3 separate regions of the Homo sapiens genome follow, and all the other regions are linked to region 1. The links are contacts of gene promoters, found by promoter capture Hi-C in human tissues and cell types (Jung and others, 2019). All regions are on one chromosome and are shown on one strand. The core of a region is centred on a gene start or on the middle of the fragment in contact, and the rest is flanking DNA. Distances in the headings are between cores, read along the strand shown.

The links. Contacts are between HindIII fragments. The study calls those that stand out against the background at their distance.
Region 2: a fragment that was not itself captured here is called in contact with the fragment with the promoter of MGAT3 in region 1 in 2 of the 25 tissues and cell types used here (dorsolateral prefrontal cortex and lymphoblastoid cells).
Region 3: a fragment that was not itself captured here is called in contact with the fragment with the promoter of MGAT3 in region 1 in 1 of the 25 tissues and cell types used here (spleen).

What each region holds. Positions count from the first base shown.
Region 1 is chr22:39,454,197-39,459,331 of GRCh38, forward strand. MGAT3 (beta-1,4-mannosyl-glycoprotein 4-beta-N-acetylglucosaminyltransferase) reads left to right here and starts at 2,816. Exons shown (of 2, transcript NM_002409.5): 1 at 2,816-3,361. RefSeq lists silencers at 2,742-2,801, 3,532-3,801, 3,812-3,941 and an enhancer at 4,262-4,461. The HindIII fragment of the contact is 12,980 bases long and covers 1-5,135 here.
Region 2 is chr22:40,297,475-40,302,609 of GRCh38, forward strand. TNRC6B (trinucleotide repeat containing adaptor 6B) reads left to right here. Exons shown (of 23, transcript NM_001162501.2): 13 at 2,981-3,112; 14 at 3,436-3,531; 15 at 3,676-3,859. Among named protein-coding and RNA genes, the nearest start is that of ADSL, 46 kb to the right of the region's middle. The HindIII fragment of the contact is 7,080 bases long and covers 1-5,135 here.
Region 3 is chr22:39,973,010-39,978,144 of GRCh38, forward strand. GRAP2 (GRB2 related adaptor protein 2) reads left to right here. Exons shown (of 8, transcript NM_004810.4): 8 at 1-712. Among named protein-coding and RNA genes, the nearest start is that of TMA7B, 15 kb to the left of the region's middle. The HindIII fragment of the contact is 5,794 bases long and covers 1-5,135 here.

The sequences.
Region 1 (5,135 bases), core at 1,566-4,065:
TGCAGATGAAGATACTGAGGCTTAGGGATTGAAATGACTGGAACACTTGGCGAGCTGGCATAGAACCCAGGTCTTAAGCTCCCTGGGATTCAGCTTCTCCACCTGCTGAGCACCTCCGTGCCTACTGTGTGCCAGGCCTCTGTGAATGTGGGAGGGGAAAAGAGTGACAGGGGCCATGTGGGAGGAAGGAATTGGGGGATGTTTACCCTTCTGGCCAGCTCTCTGGGAGGGAGGCTTCTGGCACCACAGGGCCTGAGCTGGGAGGGTGGAGGGTGGGGCCTGGTGTGCCCAGCTGTGGCTGTGTGACCGAGCAAGTTACTTATCTCTGACAGGCTGGGCGTGGGGAAGATGTACTTGCCACACAGCGCCCAACACACTGAGTGCCGCATTGAGGACATGGAGGCGGACTTTGGTATGAACCCAACAAGGCTGACTCCACTTCGGCCTCCCAAGAAGCTTGGGAATCTGGAAAGGTCAGGAGAACAAAGACCCAAGCTGGGGGAAGATGGAGAGCAAGCAAGTCCCCTGACCCTGGCCAGCTCTGGGCAGGGCAGCTTCCCTGGGGAGTGGGGCGTGTCTTTACTTCTCACTGGGCCTCAAGGGCAGGGGCTGGGGCTTGGGCAGGTCCTCCTCCCCTTTGCCAGGAGCAATGGAAATGGAGGAATGTGATTATTTTGTGCCTGCCTTCGTGCTTGGGGGCCAATGTCAAGGTTTTCTTGATGCTCAGAACGAGTTCAATGGAGAATCCAGACTTGAAACAGCACTTCTTTCATGGGCTGAGGGACGCCCAGAGTTGCTGCTGAAGGCTCAGGGAGGGAGAGAAGGTTCTGGGGAAGGAAAGTGTCTGTGAGGCGGTCCCTTCCAGAGGGGAATGAGTCCCAGGCAGGGAGAGCTGTGGCATGGGGAATTGGGGGAGGGGGACACATTTGAGCAGAAATTGAAGGTTCTTTGGGGGCCGGAGAAGAAGGGGCAGAGAGGGTTGAACAGCCAGGCTGGGGAGAGGAGGAGGGCAACATTTTTGCAGGGCAGAATAGACTGGATTTTGGGGGAGTGACAATTACCTTAAGCACATGTCATGGAGATGATTTATTTTTTTTTTGAGATGGAGTCTTGCTCTGTTGCCCAGGCTGGAGTGTAGTGGCATGATCTCGGCTCACTGCAACCTCCGCCTCCTGGGTTCAAGCAATTCTCCTGCCTCAGCCTCCCGAGTAGCTGGGATTACAGGCGTGTGCCACCACACCCGGCTAATTTTTGTATTTTTAGTAGAGATGGGGTTTCATCATGTTGTCAGGCTGGTCTTGAACTCCTGACCTTCTGATCCACCTGCCTCAACCTCCCAAAGTGCTGGGATTACAGGCATGAGCCACCATGCCCGGCCCATGGAGATGTTATAATGGAATGTGCTTAGAGTGATAGGAACTAGGAATGGATCTTACACTTTCAAATGGTTGGGAAAACATCAAAAAATGTTTCTGGACACGTGAAAATGACACGAAATTCAAATTTTTGTGTCCATAAAGTTTTATTGGAACACCGCCAGGCTCATTCTTTTACGTATTGTCTATGGTTGATTTTATGCTACGATGGCAGAGTTGAGTAGTTGGGACAGAGACCATATGGCTGGCAAAGCCTAAAAGATTTACAATCAATCTCTTAAAGCAAATGGTTTGCCCACCCTTGCTTAGAGAGAGCCTCCAGGAAGAAAAGAGCAGTGAGGGTGACGTTGAAGAAGGGGGCAAGACTAGGTCACCAGGGGCTCCCTGTGCCCCGCCCAGGCACTGAACTTAAGCTGAGGGCAAGTGGGAGCCATTGAAGGTGCAGGCAGGAGAGTGACCTGCTCAAGTGAATGTTGGAGTAGGATCACTCTGCCTCCTCAGCAAGGATGGATGAAGCTGGGCACGGAGGCACCTGGAGCAGGTAGACCAGCCCTAGGCAGCCCGGATGGTTCAGCAAAGGCCTCTGGGACTATTCTGGAGCACATTCGCTGGGATATAGAATAGGTAGCGCATCCCTGCACCTTCGACGATGGCGGCGCAGAGATGTCTGCTGCGTACCCACAATGCCTTGTGCCTCGCACCGCGGGAGGAAGTGGCTGCTCTGTAGGCCCCAGAACGGAACCACTTGAAAGGCGGGAAACACGTGGGGGACGCCTCTGAGCCCTGAGAGGAATGGCCTAGAGCAAGGCCACGAGGAGCCAGGGCACGACACGGTGGGCCCTCGGAGAACCGCTGGTGGGCAAGTGGCAGGAGAGTAGGCTCAAGAGGGTTGGCAGGGCCGACCGGGCCTAGGGTGGCCGGGTGAGGGGGGCGGGGGAGGGGAGGCCCCCCCAGTTACCCCAGGAGTGCGCAGGTGGCTTCGGGCATGTGAGGGACGGAGGGGGTCGGACGGAAGGACACAGGCCGGTGTACAGCGGTCACCCACGCCCCAAGCAGACACACAGACTCTGCAGACACCGTAACAGGCCCGGCACCGTGCACACATCACAGGCCCAGGCCTCTGCACATGGTCACAGATGCCTATGCGAAATCCCGGCCCAGGTTCACGCGGGCACAGGCGCATCCACGCACACACCGCAACACGGATCTGCACGTCCATGCACACACAGGCACAGACTCGGGCACACGGAGTCACACCGACCCGGGCACGCTGCGGAACGCACCCGTCCACGCATACACAGAACGGGACTTGCTGCCCCGCACGCACACCAGGCCCGCACTCCGAACTACCCGCATTCCCCGCACACGCCCCCGCGCAGGCCGCCCCGGGCCGTGGGCCGGCGCACGCACGGTCACAGGAGGGGCGCGCGCACACTCGCACTCACACACACTCGCTCGCACACGCACACACTCGATCCAGCACGCGCGGGCGGCGCGGGGCGGCGGCGGCCGGAGTCTGCGGTGCGAGGCGCCCCCGGCCCGGCGCGGCGGCGGAGCCCGGCTGGCGGGGGAGGGGAGGGGGTTGCGGAGGGGGCGGGGTGGGGGCCGGAGCCGCTTGAGCCGGCGGGAGCGGGCACCCCTGCGCGCCGCGCTCGGCCTCGCCTCCGCGCCCCCCGCGCGCCCGCCGCGGTCCCTCCCCCGCGCCCGTCCGCTCGCCGGGCCCCCGCCGCCGCCCCGGGGTGCAGCCGAGCGGCCGCGCCGGGTCCCCGGGACGGGGTGGAAGTGGGGGTGGGGGGAGGGGATCGGGGCCGGGCCGGGGCCGCGCTGCCTGCGATGCCGGGCGCCCGCCGCAGCCGCTGCCGCCGGAGCCCGGGATGGGGCGAGAGGCTGCGGCGGACGCCAGCATCTCCCCGCCGGGGACCCCGGGGGCCGCGGAGCCGCCGCCGCCGCTGCTGCCGCCGTTGCTGAGACCCAGCGGGCGATGGGTGAGTTGACCCCGGCGTCCTGGGGGGCGCCGCGGCCCCTCTATCCCCGCGCTGCCCGCCCTCCCGCGCTGCGCTTGGCGCCCCCCGCCCGGCTCCGCGGCCCACTCCCCGAGCGTGACCTTAGGGGGCGGGCGCGGGCGCACTGGGGCTGGGGGCCCGGAGGCCGCGGTGGGGGCGGGATGCCGGGGAAGCCGCTCGGCGCGGGCCCCCTCCCCCTACCCGCCGCTCCTCCGAGCTCCCCGGTCCCCGGAGGGCAGAGCCTCAGCGCCCGACCCCCTCCCACGGCCGGGCGGGGGACGTCCCCGAGGCGCGGGGCTCGAGCCGTGCTTTGTGCGCGGCACCCCCCAGCCTCCGGCGCGGCTCCCCCACAACCTCCGGCGCGGCGCGGGGCTGGGGTGGGAGGCCTCCGCGCCCGCCTTCCCCACCCCCGACCCCAGACTGCGGCGGCGGCAGCCGAGGCCCAAGCGCAGTCGGGGGCTGGGCGGGTGCGGGGGCTGCGGCCGTAGCTACCCCTGGGGACCAGGCAGAGGCAAATGTGGAGAGGGCCCCCGGCCATTTACCGGGGTGGGGGCCCCCGGCTCCTTGCATTGCTCTGCCCAGGGCGGGGGAGGGAACCTGGCTGAGGGAGGGCGCTATAAATATCTGCAAATAGTGAGTTCTGGAACCGGGAGTGGGGAGGGGAGTGCGCCTGGGTGTGTGTATGGTGGGGTTCCTGAGCTGGGGTGCAGCAGGAAGGGATGCCGCGCGGCCAGACCTAGTGGTCTGAGGTCGGATGACCCCCAGCCCCGGAAGATGCCCCTGAAGGCCCCTGATGGGGTGTGGGCAGACACACTACCCCAGTGGGATTCCTCCCTGGTTCCCCACTTCATTCCTGGGACACACCAGTCCAGATTCGCCTTGATGGGGGAGTTGTGAGCACTGGCGTGTCGTTTGGGGAGGGGGAGCAGTTATGAAAGATCCAGACATGGAGCCCAGCAGAAGGATGGAGGGGAGAGCCCCCACCCCCAGGAGCTGCAGCTCTGAGGGGGTTTTCAGTCTAAGGAGTGCTAAGGGGAGCCGCTCTGGGTCCTAGGAAGGTTTGAAAGAGGGGTCCCAGCCCAGGAGGAAGAGAGAGGTTACTGGAAGAGATGACGACAGGAAGCTGCCAGAGATCTCTGGGTAGAGAAAGGTGGGAAGGGCGTTGTGGGCCAAGGGAATGGCATGAGCAAAGGCTCAGAGGTGTGAGTGTCTGGCGTGTGTTGAGAGGTGGCAGTGGGAACAGTCAGGCACTGTGGGTGCCCCCTGGAAGAAGTGAGATGAAAACGGGGCAGAGGCTGGGCAGGGAGGCCAGGTGGAGGTGAGGTGGGAGGGCACAGCAGGGAGCTGGCACTTGGTCCTGAGGACGGCAGGGAGCCAAGACCTGGCTGGGGGGATGCCGCTGGCTCAGACCCATTCTAAGGGTCTGCCTGGTGCCCTTGGTGTGGTCAGGGCTACTTGAGGCACACTGGTGATTCCTTTTTCTTTTCTTTTCTTTTCTTTTTTTTTTTTTTTTTTTGAGATGGAGCCTCACTCTGTCGCCCAGGCTGGAGTGCAGTGGTGCCATCCTGGCTCACTGCAACCTCTACCTCCTGGGTTCAAGCAATTGTCCCACCTCGGCCTCCCGAGTAGCTGGGACCACAGGTGCCCGACACCACACCCGGCTAATTTTTGTATTTTTAGTAGAGATGGGGTTTCACCAGGTTGGCCAGGCTGGTCTCGAACTCCTGACCTCAAGTGATCCACCCACCTTGGCCTC
Region 2 (5,135 bases), core at 1,275-3,774, 840 kb after region 1:
TATGCCATGCTCATAAAGATATACGTAAGGTCTTAAGCTCAAATTAAAAAATCAATAAAAATTTAAAGGCCAGGCACGGTGGCTCACGCCTGTAATCCCAATACTTCGGGAGGCCAAGGCGGGTGGATCACGAGGTCAGGAGTTCGAGATCAGCCTGGCCAATATGGTAAAACCCCGTCTCTACTAAAAATACAAAAATTAGCTGGGTGTGGTGGTGCGTGCCTGTAGTCCCAGCTACTCAGGAGGCTGAGGCAGAAGAATTGCTTGAACCCAGGAGGTGGAGCTTGCAGTGAGGCGAGATCACACCACTGCACTCCAGCCTGGGCGACAGAGTGAAACTCTATCTAAAAATAATAATAATAAATAGGCCGGGTGCAGTGGTTCACGCCTGTAATCCCAGCACTTTGGGAGACCGAGGCAGGTGGATCACAAGGTCAGGAGATTGAGACCATCCTGGCTAACATGGTGAAACCCCGTCTCTACTAAAAAAAATACAAAAAATTAGCCGGGCATGGTGGCAGGCACCTGTAGTCCCAGCTATTCGGGAGGCTAAGGCAGGAGAATGGCGTGAACCCAGGAGGTGGAGCTTGCAGTGAGCCGAGATTGCGCCACTGCACTCCAGCCTGAGCAACAGAGCGAGACTCCATCTCAAAAAATAAAAATAAAAATAAAAATAAATTTAAAAAATCATTAAAAAAAACCCAGCTACATGGGTTAAATATTACATGAGGGAACAAAAGCATGTTTTTAAATATTATAGATTTTAACTAACATTAAGCTTAGTGTGTGAATCAGGAGTTACAATCACCAGAGAAATTGACATCTTAGGCATTGTTCATGAAAGCACAGCTTTTAACAGAATGCTTAGGGTCTACTTGGTGTTAGACTACTCTAGAAAATACCTTTCTGTTCTTGGCTCTTCACCAAGAAATGGAAGGAGATACAGGTGAAAGAACTGATCATATTGAGCCTGAAGATGAGATGCAAGGGAACTGTAATCATTGTCTGAAGACATTTGAAGAATCAGCCTGTGGAATAATGTGAACATTTATGGAGGACATCTCTAAGCATTTGACATTGATTAACTCATAAAATCTAATAATGACTGAAGTTAATATTGTTGTCATTCCAGTTGGAGATCAGGAAAGTAAGGGTCAGAAAGGCTAAATGAGTAACTTGCTCTGAGTCAGCTTAGAAATGGCAGAGCTGGGGCCGGGCGCGGTGGCTCACGCCTGTAATCTCAGCACTTTGGGAGGCCGAGGCGGGCGGATCATGAGGTCAGGAGATTGAGACCATCCTGGCTAACACGGTGAAACCCCGTCTCTACTAAAAATACCAAAAATTAGCCGGGCGCAGTGGCGGGCGCCTGTAGTCCCAGCTACTCGGGAGGCTGAGGCAGGAGAATGGCGTGAACCCAGGAGGTGGAGCTTGCAGTGAGCCAAGATAGCGCCACTGCACTCCAGCCTGGGTGAAAGAGCGAGACTCCGTCTCAAAAAAAAAAAAGAAATGGCAGAGCTGGGTTGGGAGCGGTGGCTCATACTTGTAATCACAACACTTTGAGAGGATGGCTTGAGCCCAGGAGTTTGAGACCAGCCGGGAGGTCAAGGCTGCAGTGAGCCATGATCACGCCACTGCATTCCAGCCTGGGTGACAGAGTGAGACCCTGTCTCAAAAAAAAAAAAACAAAAAAAAAAAAAAAACAAAACTGGGGAGGCAGGCAGAGCTGGGATTACAAACCCAGGCAGTCTGCCTCTAGAACTAAAGTCTTTTTTTTTTTTTTTTGAGATGGAATTTCACTCTTGTTGCCCATGCTGGAGTGCAATGGCACCATCTTGGCTCACCACAACCTCCGCCTCCCAGCTTGAGGCAATTCTCCTGCCTCAGCCTCCCTAGTAGCTGGGATTACAGGCATGCGCCATCACACCCAGCTAATTTTGTATTTTTAGTAGAGACGGGGTTTCTGCATGTTGGTCAGGCTGGTCTTGAACTCTTGACCTCAGGTAATCCACCCACCTCAGCCTCCTGAAGTGCTGGGATTACAGGCGTGAGCCACCACACCCAGCTCTAAAGTCTTTTTTTAACCTTTTTATTTTTTTAAAGAGATGATAGCTCGCTATGTTGCCCAGGTGTTCTCAATCTCCTAGGCACAAGCTAGTCCCCCAAACTGCTGGGATTACAGGTGTGAGCCACTGTGCCCAGCCTCTAGGACTAAATTCTTGGCCATTGTGCTACACTACTTGGCACTCACGGACACGTTCTTAAGCTTGTTCTCCATGGCCCCAACTAGTCCAGTGGGTTCAGTAGATGAGGGTGCAGGGAAACTCACTTCTTCTTACTTAAATCATCTTAGAGGAGCAAACCAAAGATAGGAGGGAATCCTCTGTCGCCAGAGCTTCCTGCAGCCTCGCCTAGCTCACTCCTGAGAACAGGGAGAAGGACCCTGCCGGGTCAGTGACCTTCCAGGCTCTTTGATGCTGGCTCTTTTTTTACACTGCCACTCTGTGGGTGTTTGCTATCAGAAGCCATGCATTGAAACTCATGTCTTCTATTTACAAGTTAATATATTTGTCTTACTTGTAGCACAGAAATACTTTCACGTAAGTATTATTTATTAGCTTTATGCAATGTAGCATGTTTTGTTTTATGGCACATTTCCAGTAATAATTTCTTGGTTGGATAAAAGCCATATTGTCATCAATTTTTTTTTCTTGAAGATGTTTTCCTGAATATAAAATTTATACTTTTTATTGTAGAAAATTGGAAAGTCTAAGAAGAAAATTTAAAAACTGTTGTAATCTCACTGCTCCAAGATAATCATTGTTAACCCTTGAGTGTATTTTTCCTGTTATATATTTTTCACAGAAAAGTTTGACAACTCTTGCTTTAGATTCATCAAGATTCTTTTCACAGAAAAACAGTTTTATTTTGATAAATTCTGAAGATTCCTTTTCTTTTCTTTCTTTTTTATTTTTTTGGCTAGGTTTCTGCCTCAATGCTCAAGCAGTTTCCCAACAGTGGCCTGAGTCCAGGTCTTTTCAATGTGGGGCCCCAGTTATCTCCTCAACAAATTGCCATGCTGAGCCAGCTTCCACAAATTCCCCAGTTTCAGTTGGTAAGTAGAAGATTTTCTTCCTGTGGCTAAAAAGGTCATTTGCTTTTTTTTTTTCTTTAGCTTTGATTTGCTTCCCACATCTTTGCCACTTTCTATGTTCAAAGGGTGCTAGTCCACACTTCTTTGCAAACTATGGAGTGTGCTTAAGGGTTGTCAGCTCAACTGGAGGAAAATGTAACCAAGAGACCGGGAATTTGGTGTTACTTCCCTCCTGGATACTTTTGATTGTGTGACCTGTACTTCAGTGCACAGACCCTTTAGGTGTCCTCAGTAAATCAATCTCAGGAAACTTTGGTTTTCTGTCTTTCCCCCTTGTTTTGTAGGCATGTCAGCTTCTCTTGCAGCAGCAGCAACAGCAGCAGTTGTTACAGAACCAGAGAAAGATTTCTCAAGCTGTACGCCAACAGCAAGAGCAGCAGGTACGTGGGTAGGCAGGGTCCCTCCAGTGCTGTGTTGGAGGAGTACATCCCGGCTTAGCCTCTGATGGCAAAGAACCGGGCACAGTCTTTTCCTGGGAAGTTCGGGGCCGTGCTTATCACGTGTCTGTCTCTCTTGGCCCTCAGCTGGCTCGAATGGTGAGTGCACTGCAGCAGCAGCAGCAGCAGCAGCAGAGGCAGCCAGGCATGAAGCACTCGCCCTCTCATCCTGTTGGGCCCAAGCCGCATCTGGACAACATGGTACCCAACGCATTGAATGTGGGGCTCCCAGACCTTCAAACCAAAGGGCCAATACCTGGATATGGTTCTGGTAAGTTGTTGGTAGAGAAAATTACCTTTTTAGAAATCTACCTCTCTAGGCCTGTGGTAGGGGTTGCACCTGCATTACCCTCCTTTTTTATGTCAGCTGTACAAGGTAGGTAAATATTCTTATCCCTGGTTTACAGATGAGACATCTGAGGCTTCTTGAGTTTCAGTGGGTTTCCAGAGCTCACCACATGGTTACTAAATAGCAGAGCCAGGCCTCTAACTTCTCTGGCTCCAAAGCAGTCTTCCTTTTTTTTGTGTGTGTGTGTGTGTCTGGTTTATTTTATTTAACACAGTAAAGGCTCATACATGCTATAGCACATATCAGAATTCATCCCTTTCTAAGGCTGGGTAATACTCCATTGTGCAGATATACCACAGTGTGTTTACCCACTTTTCTGCTGAAATGGATAAACTTGGATTGTTTCCACCTTTTAACTACAAGTTGAGCATCCCCTAATCTAAAAATCCAAAATGCCCCAAAATCTGAAACTTTTTGATCACCAGCATGAAGCCAGCAGTCTTTCAATACGTGTGTATGAATGGCAAACTGCTCTCCTACCGCCGGGAATTTTTAAAACCCTATTTAAATGCTTGTGCATGCTGTGAGTGGTACACATGGCTGAGGTTATGATCTGTTAAAATATGTACTAGTTTGAAATGTTTTAGTGTACTCATATTAATAAAATTGCCTTCTATAGAAAAAATGAACTAAAATTATAGTGCAGATTGATAAAAATTCATTTGATATTAGTATTTCATCTGATTTAAATAGAATTAGAACAAGTAAGGTTATGCCTTTAACATTCTTCAAGAATTTTTTGGCAGGCAAATCATAGCTCTTTCAGAACTGGAAAACATGCTGTAAGCAGAATCTAATTGGTGAGGAAACAGTGATTTCAAAACAAAATTTTAAAATGGAAAAGATACCACACACCATCATAGTTTCATCTCAAACTGACAACATTTAGAATTTATCTTCTAAAGAAGATACTGTTCTACGCACACTCAAAAAACGAGTTGGGCCGCGCGCGGTGACTCACACCTGTAATCCCAGCCCCTTGGGAGGCTGAGGCAGGCAGATCACGAGGTCAGGAGATCGAGACCAGCCTGGCCAATGTAGTGAAACCCTGTCCCTACTAAAAATACAAAAATTAGCCGGACGTTGTGGCATGCGCCTCTAATCCCAGCTACTGGGGAGGCTGAGGCAGGAGAATCACTTGAACCCGGGAGACGGAGGTTGCAGTGAGCTGAGATTGTGCCCCTGCACTCCCACCTGG
Region 3 (5,135 bases), core at 1,132-3,631, 520 kb after region 1:
GAGCAGAGAAACCGCTGCTGCGGAAGGCAGGGAGCAAAGAAGCATAAGGAAAAGAACAGGAGAAAGAACAAAGGCAGAGAAGACCTCCTCAGCTATTTTGGTGCTAGGTAATGTGAAATGCTGCAGTAAATAAAAGCCATAAGTAATGTTTGATTTTACAGTATTTACAAACCATATGCTTTAAACAGCCCACAAACTCCATCCAGTTGTCTGATGATGTGGGAGGACCAGCTCTAGTTAGACGGAGGTATGTGATTCGATTCTGGTGGAGACTTTGTGCCTTGAAAGGCTTCTCAGGAAAGCAGTAATAAAACAAAGTGTCCTTGTTTGGCCAGGCCGTGTCTGGTGTCTGCGTTGCATACCCCTCAGGTAGAGAGTGAGAACGAGACCAGGGGGTGACAGGGGTCATCGGCCTGCAGGAGCTGACCCCGTAGGCAGGCGGTATGAGCAGAGCTTTCAGAACCCCTGGAGCTCGGTGTTCTGTTGTAGCAAAAGCTACTGAAGAGTATTTTGTACTGAGATGCCAAAGCATCTTTCCCTTGCTCATCAGCCTCCATTCAGAAGGAAGCGGGAAAGTCACCCAAACCACCTACAAGGAATGAGGGCTCTTAGCGGCCAGGTAAAGAGGACAAGAACCAAACTGTCCACATTATGGAGGGGAGGGGGAAAGAGAGCTCAACCCCCCTCAGCCTCTGGTGCTGCCAGGGGGAGCCCCTCCGCATGTGTCCCCACGGGCCCTAGTTTCTACCTGACAGCATTTCAGCACCAGAGGAGGGTTGAGCCAGCTCCTCTCACCAGCCACAGAACCAGCAGCCAACAAACACATTGTCCCCGAGTTTGGCTGCAACACTCTATGTGACTTGGGAACTTGAAGCTTCCAGAGAAAAGCCAGGTCCTGTTGGACCAGTTGTTGGGTTTTCCTAACCACTTGCTGTGCCTCACCGCATTTCAAATATCTGGCACCTGCCACTGCCCACCCACTTTTAGATGGCCCTAGGGTGATCTAACCATGGTGCTTCTCAAAATTTAAAGTGCCTACGAATTGCCTGGGGACCGTGTTGAAATGCAGCTTCCAACTTGGTCCTGAATTTCTAACAAGCTACTGGGTGCTGTTGCTAGGTCCACATGTTAAGGAGCAAAGGCAAAGAACTTAGCAGTGAGCACAACTCTAATTGGGCTCTTCTTCTGAGGATATTCGGCCATTTTTTCTTCGCTGCTAACGAATAGGTCACTTTGGCTTTGGGACAGATGCAATTCAGAACGGTCATTATGACGTCATTCATATTTGGCTACCCAGGTGACTTATTATTTTAGCATCCTTATCTCTAGAATTAAAAAAATGTAATGTGAGAGGAATTCAGATGAAATGCAAACAGGAATTTCCTATAATAATTACTATTTCCTAATAGTAATTATTTTAAACATCAGCAGAGATTGCAGAAGTTGTAAAAGCTTTGTCAGGAAATCTTCAGTCATAAAATTGACTCTGGTCAGATGTGGCCCTGGTTGAGGCAGGGGACTGTGCTCCCAGCTAACCTAAAACACAACAGCCCACACTCGGGACAGATTAGCATGGCCAAAATATTTACTGTTTGCCTTGTCTAAGCCAACATTTTAGCCCCTCTATACCAAGGCAAGTGTGTGAGAAAAACCTTGATTGTCTCAATGCTTTTTAAAAAATGCCTCCTCAGTTCCTCCACTTTACTCCATCACCTTGGCCATGCCACCATCATCTCTTCCTTTGGCAACTGTCAGCTTTCATACCTTTCTCCCTGCATTCTCTCCCGTAATCTGGTCCTCCACACAGATGCCAAAGCGATCTTTGTAAAAATAAATCCGATCACATCACTCCCCTTCCCACTGGATTTAGGCTTAAGTCCAAAGTCCTAATGTGGCCCTGTGAAGTCCGGCCCCTGCCTCCCTCCTCAGCCTCCTCTTCTGCCTCCCCTGCCCCTTGCTTTTATGCTCCTGCCCCACTGGCCTTTCAGCCTCCAAATGGCCAAGGATTTGTCCCCAAACCTTTCACACTTGCCATTCTTGCTACCTGGAGGCACATCCCCTGCTAACCCTGCTAACTCTTGTTCATCTCCAGGTCTGGGTTGGTTTTTTGTTTTCTGTTTTTTGTTTTTTGTTTTTGTTTTTGTTTTTGTTTTTGTTTTTGTTTTGAGATGGGGTCTGGCTCTGTTGCCCAGGCTGGAGTGCAGTGGCACAGTCTCAGCTCACTGCAGCCTCTGCCTCCCAAGTTCAAGTGATTCTCCCACCTCAGCCTCCCGAGTAGCTGGGATTACAGGGTCATGTCACCACACCTGGCTAATTTTTGCATTTTTGGTAGAGACAGGGTTTCACCATGTTGGCCAGGGTGGTCTTGAACTCCTGACCTCAGGTGATCCACTCACCCTGGCTTCCCAAAGTGATGGGAATATAGGTGTGAGCCACCATGCCTGGCCCAGGTCTGGGTTTAAATGTCACTTCCAAACAGTCCTCCCCTGCCCTCTAATCTAAAATAATCCTTCCCCTAAGATGGTCTTATGAATCCTGTGCTTTTCCTGAATAGCACGTACACAGATGATGGTGCCAGACTGAGCTGTATGGCTATTACAGCTCACTGCAGCCTCTGCCTCCCAAGTTCAAGTGAACTTGGAGCTGTAAGCTCCACGGAGCAGGGGTCACCTCTGTTTTGTAAACCATTGTACACCCAGCATCTAGCACTATGCAAGGCACACAGAGGCTCAGTAAATATTTTTCTAATGAAGGAATGATTGGACCTGCTTCATCTCATCTATTTACTCATTTTGTAACTCAACTGTCTTGGGCCTAACAGACCTGTAGATGCAAACAAGGTCATATTTACAATGATGTCCAGGTTCCAGTAGCTTTAGCCACTGTCTTCGGATTCTCCTCCAGTTAACTTCTGAGAGGCCAAGAGAGGGAGGCTGTTATCTCTCACGTGTTTAGGCACCAGTATACTCACGCTTCCTACTCTGGTTCCAGTGTTCTGTTGCCCCACGCATCCTCTGCTGACAATGCCTTCCCAGATGCTGCGGATCCACTATGCACCACATTTATCTGCTGGTGAATTGACCCAATCCTTCAGGACACCAAATCTGCCCTGCAGTCCACATGACAAGGAGATTGGGGAAGAGGTAGAGGGGAGAATGGCCAGCCTGTGCCCAATTCTGAGAGGCACTGCTTGGACCCTGGCTCCCTCAGCATCTTCCATGAGCACAGCTGGCTCTCTTCTCAGCCGAGCCCTCCCTCCATCAGACAGAACAAGGGATACCAACCCTTCCCTCCGTCTCTCTCTTCTCACTCTTCCCTGTTGCCTCTTTCTCCTTGAGCTCAAAAGAAGGGGAATGTACCTACATGCCATCGTTAGCTCACAGCTAACCTGAAACACAACAGCCCACACTGGGGACTGATTAGCATGGTCAAAATATTTGCTGTTTTCTCAGTCTAAAGTCAACACTTCAGCCTGTCCATACCAAGGCAAGGGTGTCCTCTGCACCACACCATTTGTGCAGTAGATACTACCTAGAAGCCTAGTAGCTGTGCACTCACTTCTATTGTTTTAAGTTTTGCTGTAATTCATTCATTAAGTCAACAAATATTTACAAAGCACCTCTTCAGGGTCAGACACAATCAGCCATCGGGTCCTTCACATTCTCTCAACTCTGTCCCTTCTCTGCACCCATTCCACAGCCACTGCCTTACTTCAAACCTCTCTCACTTCTTTCCCTGATGACTGCAATAGTCTCAGCACTCGTCTCCCTGCCTTTCTGGCTGGCCCCCTGTAATACAGCCTCCAACGCAGTCAGGGAGATCTTATTCGCAGACAGGCTGATGATACCAAGCTCCTGCTCAAATCTTTGGGTTCTCCATAGTCTTCAGGCTGGAGTTTAACCTCCTTAGCTTCGCACTAAAGGCCTTTTGTGATCTGCCTGCTGCCTTGTTCGTTCAGCCACATCTTCTACCTCTCCAGTCCCAAACACTCTTTACTTCAGTCCCTTAGAACTATCTGTGGTTCCCAGAATGAGGCATGTTTTCTAAGACCTCTGGTCTCCTACATTCTGTTCTTTTTGCCTGGAATGCTTTCTCCCACTGTTTTGTCTAGACAAGGGCTGTCTATTAGGACTTTCTGTGATGAGGGAAAAGCTCTGTATCTGCTCCATCCAATGTGGTAGCCACTAGCCACTAGCCACATGTGGCTATTGAATACTTGAAATATGCCTGGTATAAATGACTGAAATTGCCACATGTGGCAAAGAGCTGCCTTATAGGGCAGCGTGGGTCCAGACAACTGTTACTTACTTTGAAATCATTAGCTCAGGGCTCCAGGTCTCCACTGGGAAACCATCCCAATATTATGGTTGATGTAAGTGCCCCCGTTCCCCCACCCCCACTTATGTTCCTGTAGTAACCTTGTTCTCCCTCTATCCCAATACTCAGAACACCATTGTCAGTGATTCACTGATCTGCCTCCTCTGCTAGACCAAATCTTTTTTAGGTCAAAGATATGCAGTGCAGTCAATAAATGGTTGATGCCTAGATGCAGTGACGTGCTGGTAAAGATTTAATAATTGGCTCTCTCTAAGAAGAAGCCCTAACTTGTGGTATTTGCCAATTCTATGGTGTAAACACTCCCACCATATGCCAAGAGAATGAGAAGACAAGTCACAGACCAGGAGAAAATATGTACAGAAGACATATCTGATAAAGGACTATGATACACAAAGAACTCTTAAAACTCAACAATAGGCAGGGCACAGTGGCTCACGCCTGTAATCCCAGCACTTTGGGAGGCCGAGGCAGGTGGATCATGAGGTCAGGAGTTTGAGACCAGCCTGGCCAAGATGGTGAAATCCCGTCTCTACTAAAAATACAAAAATTAGCCGGGTTTGGTGGCGGGCACCTGTAATCCCAGCTACTTGGGAGGCTGATGCAGGAAAATTGTTTGAACCCGGGAGGTGGAGGTTGCAGTGAGCCAAGTTCCTGCCACTTCGCTCTAGCCTGGGCAACAGAGCAAGACTCCATCTCAAAAAAAGAAAGAAAGAAAGAAAGAAAGTAAGAAACAAAAAAAACCAACAACAACAACAAAAAAACTCCACAATTAGAAGATGAACAACCCAATTTAAAAA